Regions from separate parts of the Homo sapiens genome. Here region 2 is linked to region 1. Evidence: promoter capture Hi-C in 16 types of primary human blood cells and fetal thymus (Javierre and others, 2016). All regions are on one chromosome and are shown on one strand. Each heading gives the region's core, a stretch centred on a gene start or on the middle of the fragment in contact. The rest is flanking DNA. Distances are from core to core; before and after follow the strand shown. Region 1 holds the start of ANKS4B (ankyrin repeat and sterile alpha motif domain containing 4B). Region 2 has its middle 34 kb from the start of METTL9.

Region 1 (5,124 bases), core at 669-3,168:
AACCATATCTTCCCATTCCCAATGTCACTACCCTAGTCCAACTCATCTCGACCACTAAAACAGTCCCCAAACATTCTCTCCGACTGTTATCCATCTACCTGAGTGAGTTTTGTAAACATAAATCTACTCTGGCAGCTTCCCTACCCAAGACATGGCTTCCTGGGCCCTTAGGATAAAGTCCTTACCAGAGTTGACAAGGCTCTTTGTGATCTGGTCTTATCTCTTATACTTGTCCTGACCCCACTCCTACTTGAACCACATCCAGCCATACTCAGCTTCTCTAGTTCTCAGAACTAGAGCAGTTTTCCATCTTAGGGAAAACACTCTTTCGTCTAGCCAACTTGTTCTCATTTTCCTAATCCCAGCTTAAATGCTTTCCCCTTAGGGAAGCCTTCCCTCACCCCTGAGATTGAGGTAGATGCCTATTTAGTGCCCTCTATTTCCCTTTTTGTAACAAATATCATAGATGAGCCAGGCACAGTGGCTCACAGCTGTAATCCCAGCACTTTGGGAGACCGAGGCTGTCAGATCGCTTGAGCTCATAAGTTGAAGACCATCCTGGGCAACATGGCAAAACCCCATCACTACAAAAAGTACAAAAATTGCTGGGCATGGTGGTGCACACCTCTTGTCCCAGCTACTCGGGAGGCTCAGATGGGAGGACCACTTGAGCCTGGGGCTCAAGGCTGCAGTCAGCTATGATCTTGACACTGCACTCCAGCCTGAGTGACAGAGTGAGACCCTGTCTCAGAGCAAACATGCACACACACACACACACAAATATCATAGATGTCTTGTCTTCCCCTCTCAAATCTGCTCACTATGACAGGGACTGTGGCTGTCTTGTTGATCACAGTGTGCCCAGTGGCTAGCAAAATATCTCTTATCTTAAGAGATAAGTGGCTGGCACATAACAAATACTGAATAAATGGGTATTCAATTGGATTCACTTGGCTCCTTTATTTACCTTGTCCTTTTCTCTTTCTTTACCCCTCTTGGGTTACGGTTGCCAACACAACCTAGCCCTCTGATAACAGGCAGAACAAGCAGAGGAACTAGCTTACTCCTCCATTAAAATCTGGGCAAAGAGATGGGGTGTGTGTGTGTGTGTGTGTGTGTGTGTGTGTGTGTGTATCTATCCACTAGCCAAAGAAGTGATAGAGTTAAGATAGGCTAAAGAGTCCTTGTAGAGCCAGCAACTCCATTCAAAAGAGCAAGACCCTGTGTCAAAAATAAAAAATAAAAAAATCATGAGCTTGCACTGGGATTGAAAGTTAATAAAAGACTGTGAGATTTTGATGGCATAGATAAAAAAAAAACTAAAACCATGTCATTTGTTCCAACCAAGGTTGGCAACTTAAAACCAAGTAAAACAATGGCCTCTTTGAAAAGAGAAAACTATTTAAATTTCATGAAAAGCATTTTTAAAGGCATAGAATTAAAATATCTTCCCTCTTCCCCATGCAGATAATGCCGTAGTTCAGGGTCTCTCCTCTGATTGTGGCTAAGGGATGAGCCACTCCTATAGTGCCAGTCCTCAGTGAGAAAAGAGAGCATCTCTAGGCATAGTTTTCTCTCTTTCTCTAAAAATCCAATCATTTAGACAATCTAGAAAGAGGATAAAGTATTTGTATTGACGTCCCTGCCTCTTGCTGCTGTCTGCAAAAACCTACCATGAACACTGTTTCCAACAGAAACCATCGGGTTGAACTTACCCTCTACTGCAGATTATCTCTAGGGCTTCCAAGTTCCCATGGTAGGCTGCCAAGAGAGTAGGAGTCATGCCGTCTTCATCCGAAAGATTTAGATCTCGCTTGGTAGCCTCTTTTAGAAGTTCCAGGTAACTATCACTAGCAGCTTGGTGGTAACGAGTAGACATTTTTCCTGCTCACCAGAACTTGGCCAGATGTCTCTCCAGGCAGAGCAAGGTGTTGGCGGAGCAACCTTCCTATAGAGCTGGTTAATTAGTGACAAGGAAGAGTGTCACCAGGGGCAAAGCTCATTTCAACTGCTTCCTTTCACGGAAGGCAACAAGGTTCGAGGCACTGAACTTGGACCTTTTCTCTCTGGAATGGCCATGACGTTGACTATTGAAGACTGCTGTATTCATCTTGAGTGTTTGGAGGTACATTCAATTTTTCTATGTCCATTAGTTTCTTGAGTGTAATATTGGCCATCTAGGCACAGGATGTAAGAAATAATTTCTTAATAAAATGCAGAGCTACTCTAGTTCACTAGCTGTTTTTTCCAAAAAGAACAGCTTTATTGAGGTATAACATCATTAAATTTACCCATTTCATGCATACAATTCAATGATTTTTAGGACATTTATAGAGTTGCATGCCCATTATCATAATCCAGTTTCCATCAGCCCTTAAAGATCCCTCATGCCATTTGCTGTCAATCCCATTTCCACTCCCAACCTCAGGAAACCACAGTCTGCTTTCTGTCTCTATAGATTTGTTTTTTACGGGCATTTCAGACAAATGGAATCCTACAATATATAGTCTTTAGTGTATAGCTTGTTTCAATTCACATACTTTTTTGAGGTTTGTCATGTGTAGCATGTAATGGTTTCTTTCTTTTCACTGCTGAATAATATTCCACTGTGCTAACATACCACATGTTCTTCATCCATTCAATGTTTCATGAATATGATGAATATTTGGGTTGTTTCCATTTTTCAGTAATGATGAATAATGCTGCTATGAGCACTGATGTACAAGTCTCTGTGTGGACACATATTTTCATGTGTCTTGCGTATATATCAAGGAGTGAAACTGCTGGGTTGCATGGCAATTTACATTTAAATTTCAGAAGTTGCCAGACTGTTTTCCAAAGTGGCTGTACTACTTCACATTTCCACCAATAACGTATGAGGGTTTCAATTTCTCCACAACCTTGCCAGCCTTATTATTGCCTATCTTTTTGTTTATGGTCATCCTAGTGGATATGAAGTGGTCTTATTATGGCTTTAATTTTCAATTTCCTAATGACTAAGATATTGAGCATCTTTTCATGTGCCCATTAGCCATTCTTACATCTTCTATTCAAATCTTTTTGCCCAATTTTTAAGTGGTTGTCTTATTAATAAATTATAAGAATTATTTATATACTCTGGATACAAGTCCTATATCAGACATATTTGGAACAGAATGAAAATGAAAATACCACATATCAAGATTTATAGGATGCAGTTAAAGAAAAGCTTAGGGCAAAATTTGTAGTTTTTTATGCATATATGAGAAAGAAAAAAGATCTCAAATCAATAACTTAAACATATTATCAATAACTCAAGGGAAGGAGAAAAAGTATAGAAAAATGACTATAAGGAGTACAATATAAGACCAAAAAATTTCCAGATCTGTAATAAAAACAAAAGAAAATGGACTAAATTTATGATGTGGAAGACTCAGCCATGTCTTGTTTATAATAGACATATCTAAAATATAAAATTGCAGAAAGATTGAAAGCAAAAAATGGAAAAGTTATAGCAAGCAAATACTAACAAAACATTGGTGTACCCACATAGATGGTCTGCAACTTATGAGAGTTTGACCTAATTTTTCAACTTTATGATGGCACAAAAATGACAGGTATTTAGTATGCTTCTCAGCTCACAACTGAGTTATTATATCAACTTATGGTGGTTTTGCATTGTAAGTTGAAGAGCACCCGTATTGGTAGCAAGGAAAAATATAGCTTAAGCCAAAAAAATTTACTAGGCATAAAGAGAGATAATACATGATAATGAAAGGAACAATTAATCAAGAAACTATGATCGTTTTAAACTTGTATAAATTAAATAACACAGCTGCAAAAAAGGGAAAGCAAAAATTAAACAGAAAAAAAAAAACAAAACCACAATCATAAGGGAAGATTTCAGACATCATCATAATGTTCTATATCAGACTAAAGATTGGTATAGCTATAAAATATTTGGGCCGGGCACAGTGGCTCACACCTGTAATCCTAGCACTTTGAGAGGCTGAGGGGGTGCAGATCACGAGGTCAAGAGATTGAGACCATCCTGGCCAATATGGTGAAACCACGTCTCTACTAAAAATACAAAAATTAGCTGGGCATGGTGGCATGTGCCTGTAGTCCCAGCTACTCGGGAGGCTGAGGCAGGAGAGTCGCCTAAACCCGGGAGGCGGAGGTTGCAGTGAGCTGAGATCGCACCATTGCACTCCAGCCTGGTGACAGAGTGAGACTCCATCTCAAAAAAAAAAAAAAAGAAGAAAAACAGATTTGAACACAATTAACAAGCTTGATCTAACAGTCACATGGAGAAAGGACCCTGTGCCCAATAGTAAATGCATGTTTTTTCTAAGCACACAGAATATTTATAAAACCTGACCACTGAATAGAAGCAGTGCAGTTCTCGACAAATAACAAATAACAGGGTTCATGCAAACCGTGTTCTCTGAAGACACTGCAACTAAATTAGAAACCGCCATCCTTACATAACTCATCAACTATGCATATGTTCTCCTGTGGTGTATTTTTTACATTGTTTTCATCAAATACATATAATTTTACATTACATCTTTTCCACTCCTTAATCCATCATAAATATATCCCCATATTGTTACACAATCTTTAATATATTTAGATAATTGTCCACTAAACTGATGTGAGAAATATCTATTTTTGAAGCCTGTAACTGTATATTCCTCTTATCTCTTTTTGTCTAAGTTTTTATTCCAAGATAAATTATTTACCCACTCAGAAAAAGTACAAAGCTTTCATCTACAGTTTCTTCACAATAATAATGAGCTCCAAAGGTCACTGTTTGTTCCTTTTTCTGGCTTCTAGGTGAAGAGCAGTAGAAGCAGCCTGGAGGGCAGCATTATTTAGCTTTTTTTAAACATTGTTTTTAGCCCAGAGAGAGTGACATATCCAAACATGATTATGAATACTGTGAGAAAATGGTAAGGTTCTTCATCAAGTTTTGCATGAGCCACTTTAATTTAGATACAACTGCATTCATTAATGCACTTTGAAATTTAAAAACAGGTCAGGCGAGGTGGCTCACGCCTATAATCCTAGCACTTTGGGAGGCAAAGGTGGGTGAATCACTTGAGGTCGGGAGTTGAAGACCCACTTGGCCAACATGGCAAA
Region 2 (5,124 bases), core at 1,248-3,747, 330 kb before region 1:
ACGAAGCCCAAAGATTCCTATGGTTCTCAGTTACATTCCAGATAGATTGTATTTTTCATTTAAATCATGCACAGTAAAAGGGGGCCCTTGATTACTTAGAGGCTGATTGTCCAGTCTGCAGCTTCTTTTTGGTGACATGGGTTATCTAAAATAGCACCTTATTAATTCTACCAATTGAGGAAAGATGTGAAAAAGTCAAACTATATGATAGAAGAAGAGGAGGCAGTTTGTTACATTTTCATACTAGAACCAATGGCTATTACCAGAACCTCTGTATATAACTTATTCATCTAAAAAAAATAGGTCCCATGTGATTATTAATGTGCTAGGCACTGGACTAAATACTGGGTATTCAATGGTAGGTGAAACTGCTAAAGTCTCTATCTTCATGGAGCCTACCTACCTCCTAGTGTGCGAGATAGGTCTTATTTAAATAGTCATAAGTTTGATTTACACATGATTATATAAGATGACTGTAGAAAGTGCTATGATAGAAAAACAAGGTATTAAATGAGAGCTCATTGTTAGAGGGTCTGGCTCATGCTGGGCAAGTGGAGGCCAGAGAATGCTCCCCAGAGGAAATATTTGAGCTGAGTTCTAAAGGACAAGTAGGCATTAACTAGGAGGGTTCTGCCTAGAATCATGTGCAAAACCTCCGGCCACCACTACCTCCTCCTCTAAAAGCCACAGCTGGAGCCAGGCATGGTGGCTTATGCCTGTAATCCCAACATTGTGGGAGCCCAAGGCAGGCAGATTGCTTGAGCCTAGGACTTCAAGACCAGCATGATCAACATGGTGAAACCCCATCTCTACAAAACATACAAAAATTAGCTGGGTGTAGTGGCGCTCAGCTGCAGTCCCAGCTACGCAGGGGGCTGAGGTGGGAGGATTGCTTGAACCTGGGAGGCAGAGGTTGCAGTGAGCCGAGATCATGCCACTACACTCCAGCCTGGGTGACAGAGCAAAACCAGAAGAAGAAGAAGATAAAAGATAAAAGCCATAGCTGGGAATGTCCTTGGTGCTCTGAACTGGATGACATTTGTTAGGCATGGCCATCCCACAGACTCACTGCTCCTCAAGATCACCCTTCAGTTATCCAAGAACTGATGGTTACCTACCCATGCTCTGCTCTTCTGCTGCTACTTTCTGGGCTCTGAGATGACCACAGAGGCCAGGGTCAAATGCTGGGCCACTCACCACATACTGATGATGCTGTCAAAATGTGGTTACCCTTCTGCTCCACCTCAATTATCTGTGGAAAACCTAATTTAAGGGGTATATGGTGTTTTGTCTGCCCGCATTTCTTCCTGTAAGAAACACGCTTTCCCCTCTTCCCTAGTAAACTGTCTCAGTCCTTACGAGTTGGTGGAGCTGGACTGCCTCACTTCCATCCCCAAGGTCAGGTACATGCCCAGATCTGGTCAGAGGACTTCATGTGTCAAGGTACAACTACTGCCTCAGCCATGAGCACTTGACTCATACAGTGCCCATTAGCGTCCACCTGGGGACTTTTTCTGTGCTACTGGAACAAAAGTGCATGTTTCCTCACCATCTTGGGCTGTTAGCCCTATGTGAACATGGAGGTATCTTGCTGCCATGCGATGAAAAGCTTATACACAACGCAGAGGGTAAGTCAGAGAAACTAGTTAATGACATAATTTGAGATCCAAATCTGCCTGACTTTTCAGCTACAGAAGCCAATAAATTCCCTTTTTTTTCTTTTTTTCTTTTTTTTTGAGACAGAGTCTCACTGTCGCCCAGGCTGGAGTACAGTGGCGTGATCTTGGCTCACTGCAACTTCCACCTCCCGGGTTCAAGTGATTCTTCTGCCTCAGCCTCCAGAGTAGCTGGGACTACAGGCGTGCACTACCATGCCTGGCTAATTTTTTGTATTTATAGTACAGGCAGGGTTTCACCGTGTTGCCCGGGCTGGTTTAGAACTTCTGACCTTAGGTGATCCACCCGCCTCGGCCTCCCAAAATGCTGGGATTATAGGCATGAGCCACTGTTCCCAGCCCGAATTCCTTTTTTATTTAAGCTAACCTGCATTGAATTTCTGTCACTTGTAGCCAAAGTGGTTTGAATAATGCACCTTTCCAATTGGCACTTGTGCCCAAATTACCATAAACTGGCTGTCTCTGACCACTCTAGGGAAAGGATTCAGTGATTTCTAATTGACCACTACCAGTGAAGACATGGGAGGTTTGAAATAGCTGAGCCCAGATTCTGAGAACGACAGGACAAGGTCATGATTGTACTTTTGAACTTGATGTTGGAGGTGTTCACAAGCATGACGCCTCTCCTGGACTTTGTTTACTGATAGGAACCACAAGATAGACGAGACAGCAGAATTAGGCCAACAATGGGTGCAAGGTGCCAAAAAGGTAATAGAAACCCAAGTTCCACTTTGAAGCAGCATAAATCAGACATTTCTCAAACATTAAAAACGGAAGTGGCCTGATCAAGACCTTTAAACGGAGTAAAAAGCCACGAAGCCAAGGCCTTGAGCAGCTAGTCAGAGAATTATTGCAATATGTGCTCAGAGACACAGGGTTTCATGAAAAGCCCAGTCTCTGCCTGGCTGCAGCACCTCTGTGCTTTTTGTCCCAGCATTTGCTTAGCAGCAGAACCTCATTATCCTTCAGTGTTCTGTAGTTATAACAGATTCCAGCTTCAGGGGGAAAAAAATGGATTCCAGCTGCCAGGGGTTCTCTCTGGGAGATTTTCTATCTCTGAGACGAAATTGTCTTTTTCTCCCTTTTTTCATGGTGAGAGGGGCATGGAGTACACCTCTGATAATCTGCAGAGGCAAAGCCTTGCATGAGCATGCTGACAACCCTGCAGAGAGAAAGCCTTAGGCTGGAAGTTCAAGGGCAGCCAGGAGAATGAACATTTCGATGAATAAAGCAATTTGATAACTACCATGTTGTGGTCTAAGACCCACCACTTACAGGCTTACATGGTGATTACTGAAGCTGCAACTATTTTAATGGCTTCATCTACTTTAAAGTACTGGTGATTTTTCTACTACTTCATTTAATTGCTTGATGTTTCTTGGAAGAGTTCTTCGGTCTTTCTGCTAAAATGTTATCCCAAGCTAGGAGAGATGCCATGATTTCAGAGAATTTCTTTTCCTCTATAATATTATATATTTTCCTCTGGGTTATCAATGAACCTACTGACTACTTTGAGTATTATGCCTTTAGGATGTCTTCACCTCTCATTTCCTTAACATTTTTAAATGAATCTCTGATAGAAAAATGAATCTGAAGCCTTGCTTATGCTTTGATTCATTCAACAAATATTTATTGCACACTTACTGTTTTAGATGCCTGGGATACAGAGTAAATAAATCAACAATGATCCTTGCCTTCAACAAAGCTTACATTCTGGTGGAGGCAAAGAGATAATACATAAATAAATTTAATATCATCTTTTGTAATAATAACCATTACACCTCTGCTTATGAAAAAAATTGCATTCAATTTTTGCTCACAATCTTCTTTTTTTTTTTTTTTTTTTTGAGACAGAGTCTCACTCTGCCACCTAGGCTGGAGTGCAGTGGCATAATCATACTTCACTGCAACCTCTGCCTCCTGGGCTCAAGTGACCCTCCTGCATCAGCCCCACAAGTAGCTGGGACTACAGATGCATGCCACAATGCCCAGCTAATTTTTCTATTTTTTGTAGAGATGGGATTTTGCCATGTTTCCCAGGCTGGTCTTGAACTCCTAGGCTCAAATGATCTGCCTACCTCGGCCTCCCAAAGTGCTGGGATTACAGGCACTGAGCCACTATGCTCAACTAATCTTCTGTTCCCTTCCTTCCTTCCTTTTCCTTCCTTCCTTCCTCTCTCTCTCTTCCTTCCTTCCTCTCTCTCTTCCTTCCTTCCCTTCCTTCCCTTCCCCTCTTCCTTTCTCTCTCTCTCTTTTCTTTCTTTTTTCTGACAGAGTCTTGCTCTGTCACTCAGGCTGGAGTGCAGTGGCACAATCTTGGCTCACTGCAACCTCCACCTCCTGGGTTCAAGTGATTCTCTTACCTCAGCCTCCTGAGTAGTTGGTATTACAGGCACACACCACCACAGCCAGCTACTTTTTTTTTTTTGTATTTTTAGTAGAGACGGGGTCTTGCTATGATGCCCAGGCTGGTCTCAAACTCCTAGACTCAAGTGATCTGCCTGCCTCAGCCTTCTAAGGTGCTGGGATTACAGGCATGAGCCACTGCACCCAGCCTAATCTTCTATTCTCAAAAGAAGAAAGTATCCACCCGCAGGTAACAGAATTCTAAAATATTACTGTCTGGACCCTTTTACTTCATTTTCCTAGCTTATACCTGCCAAATTATTGGTAAATTCAGCTCTGTGAGGTGAAGAGGGCCATATAAATGATCATACTCTCACCTTGAATCCTATCTTTAGGATCTTCTACATCACGAGACTAAAGCAAAGTCTGACTCCTTTCCACTCTTCTGCTATCAACATCAGCTCAAAAATACATAAAATTAATAAGGTTGCTTCCTGATGGCATCAGTGAAATAACTTTATGGTCATTCATATAAAAACAGACAACCCTGGCCCAGCGCAGTGGTCCATACCTGTAATCCCAACACTTTGGGAGGCTGAGGCAGGTGGATCACTTGAGGCCAAGAGTTTCAGACCAGCCTGGTAAACATGGCAAGACTGACCCTATCTCTATTTAAAAAAAGAGAAATACAGAGAATCCTTTCAAGATCACCAAGTCAGTATCAATGAGCACCTCTGCAGAAAAAACAGGAGCTCAGAATGGACAAGGCCAGAGAAACCTCAGTAAGGTGAATGTGTCCGTATAGTTTCTTTCGAATTCGTGAAAAGAAAACTTGAGTCCCTATAAACTGTTGCTACTTCAAGAATAGAGAGGGAATTTCTCCTTTCTGGGCTCAGCCTGACATGTCCCTTTTAAGAATAATGGTGTGAGATGCATCGAAGGCTTACTATTTGCCTGGCTCTATGTCTTAGCTTGGGCTGCCATAACAAAATATCATAGTACAGGTTGGGTAGCTATTTATATATTTATTTATTAAGAGGGCCTTGCTCTGTCACCCAGGCTAGAGTGCAGTAGACCAATCATAGCTCACTGTAGCCTCAAT

The links. The method cuts DNA at HindIII sites, captures the fragments that hold promoters and counts their contacts. A CHiCAGO score of 5 or more calls a contact.
Region 2: a contact is called between a fragment that was not itself captured here and the fragment with the promoter of ANKS4B in region 1, in 4 of 17 cell types (naive B cells, total B cells, total CD4 T cells and 1 more). The highest score is 9.5, in naive B cells.

Annotation. Positions count from the first base shown.
Region 1 is chr16:21,230,493-21,235,616 of GRCh38, reverse strand. It overlaps ANKS4B (ankyrin repeat and sterile alpha motif domain containing 4B), which reads right to left and starts at 1,918. Exons shown (of 2, transcript NM_145865.3): 1 at 1,716-1,918. The coding sequence starts at 1,879. LOC105371123 (a long non-coding RNA gene) reads left to right here and starts at 2,015. Exons shown (of 2, transcript XR_001752344.2): 1 at 2,015-2,125. The HindIII fragment of the contact is 3,732 bases long and covers 1-3,210 here.
Region 2 is chr16:21,563,340-21,568,463 of GRCh38, reverse strand. No RefSeq gene overlaps it. Among named protein-coding and RNA genes, the nearest start is that of METTL9, 34 kb to the left of the region's middle. The HindIII fragment of the contact is 1,772 bases long and covers 1,612-3,383 here.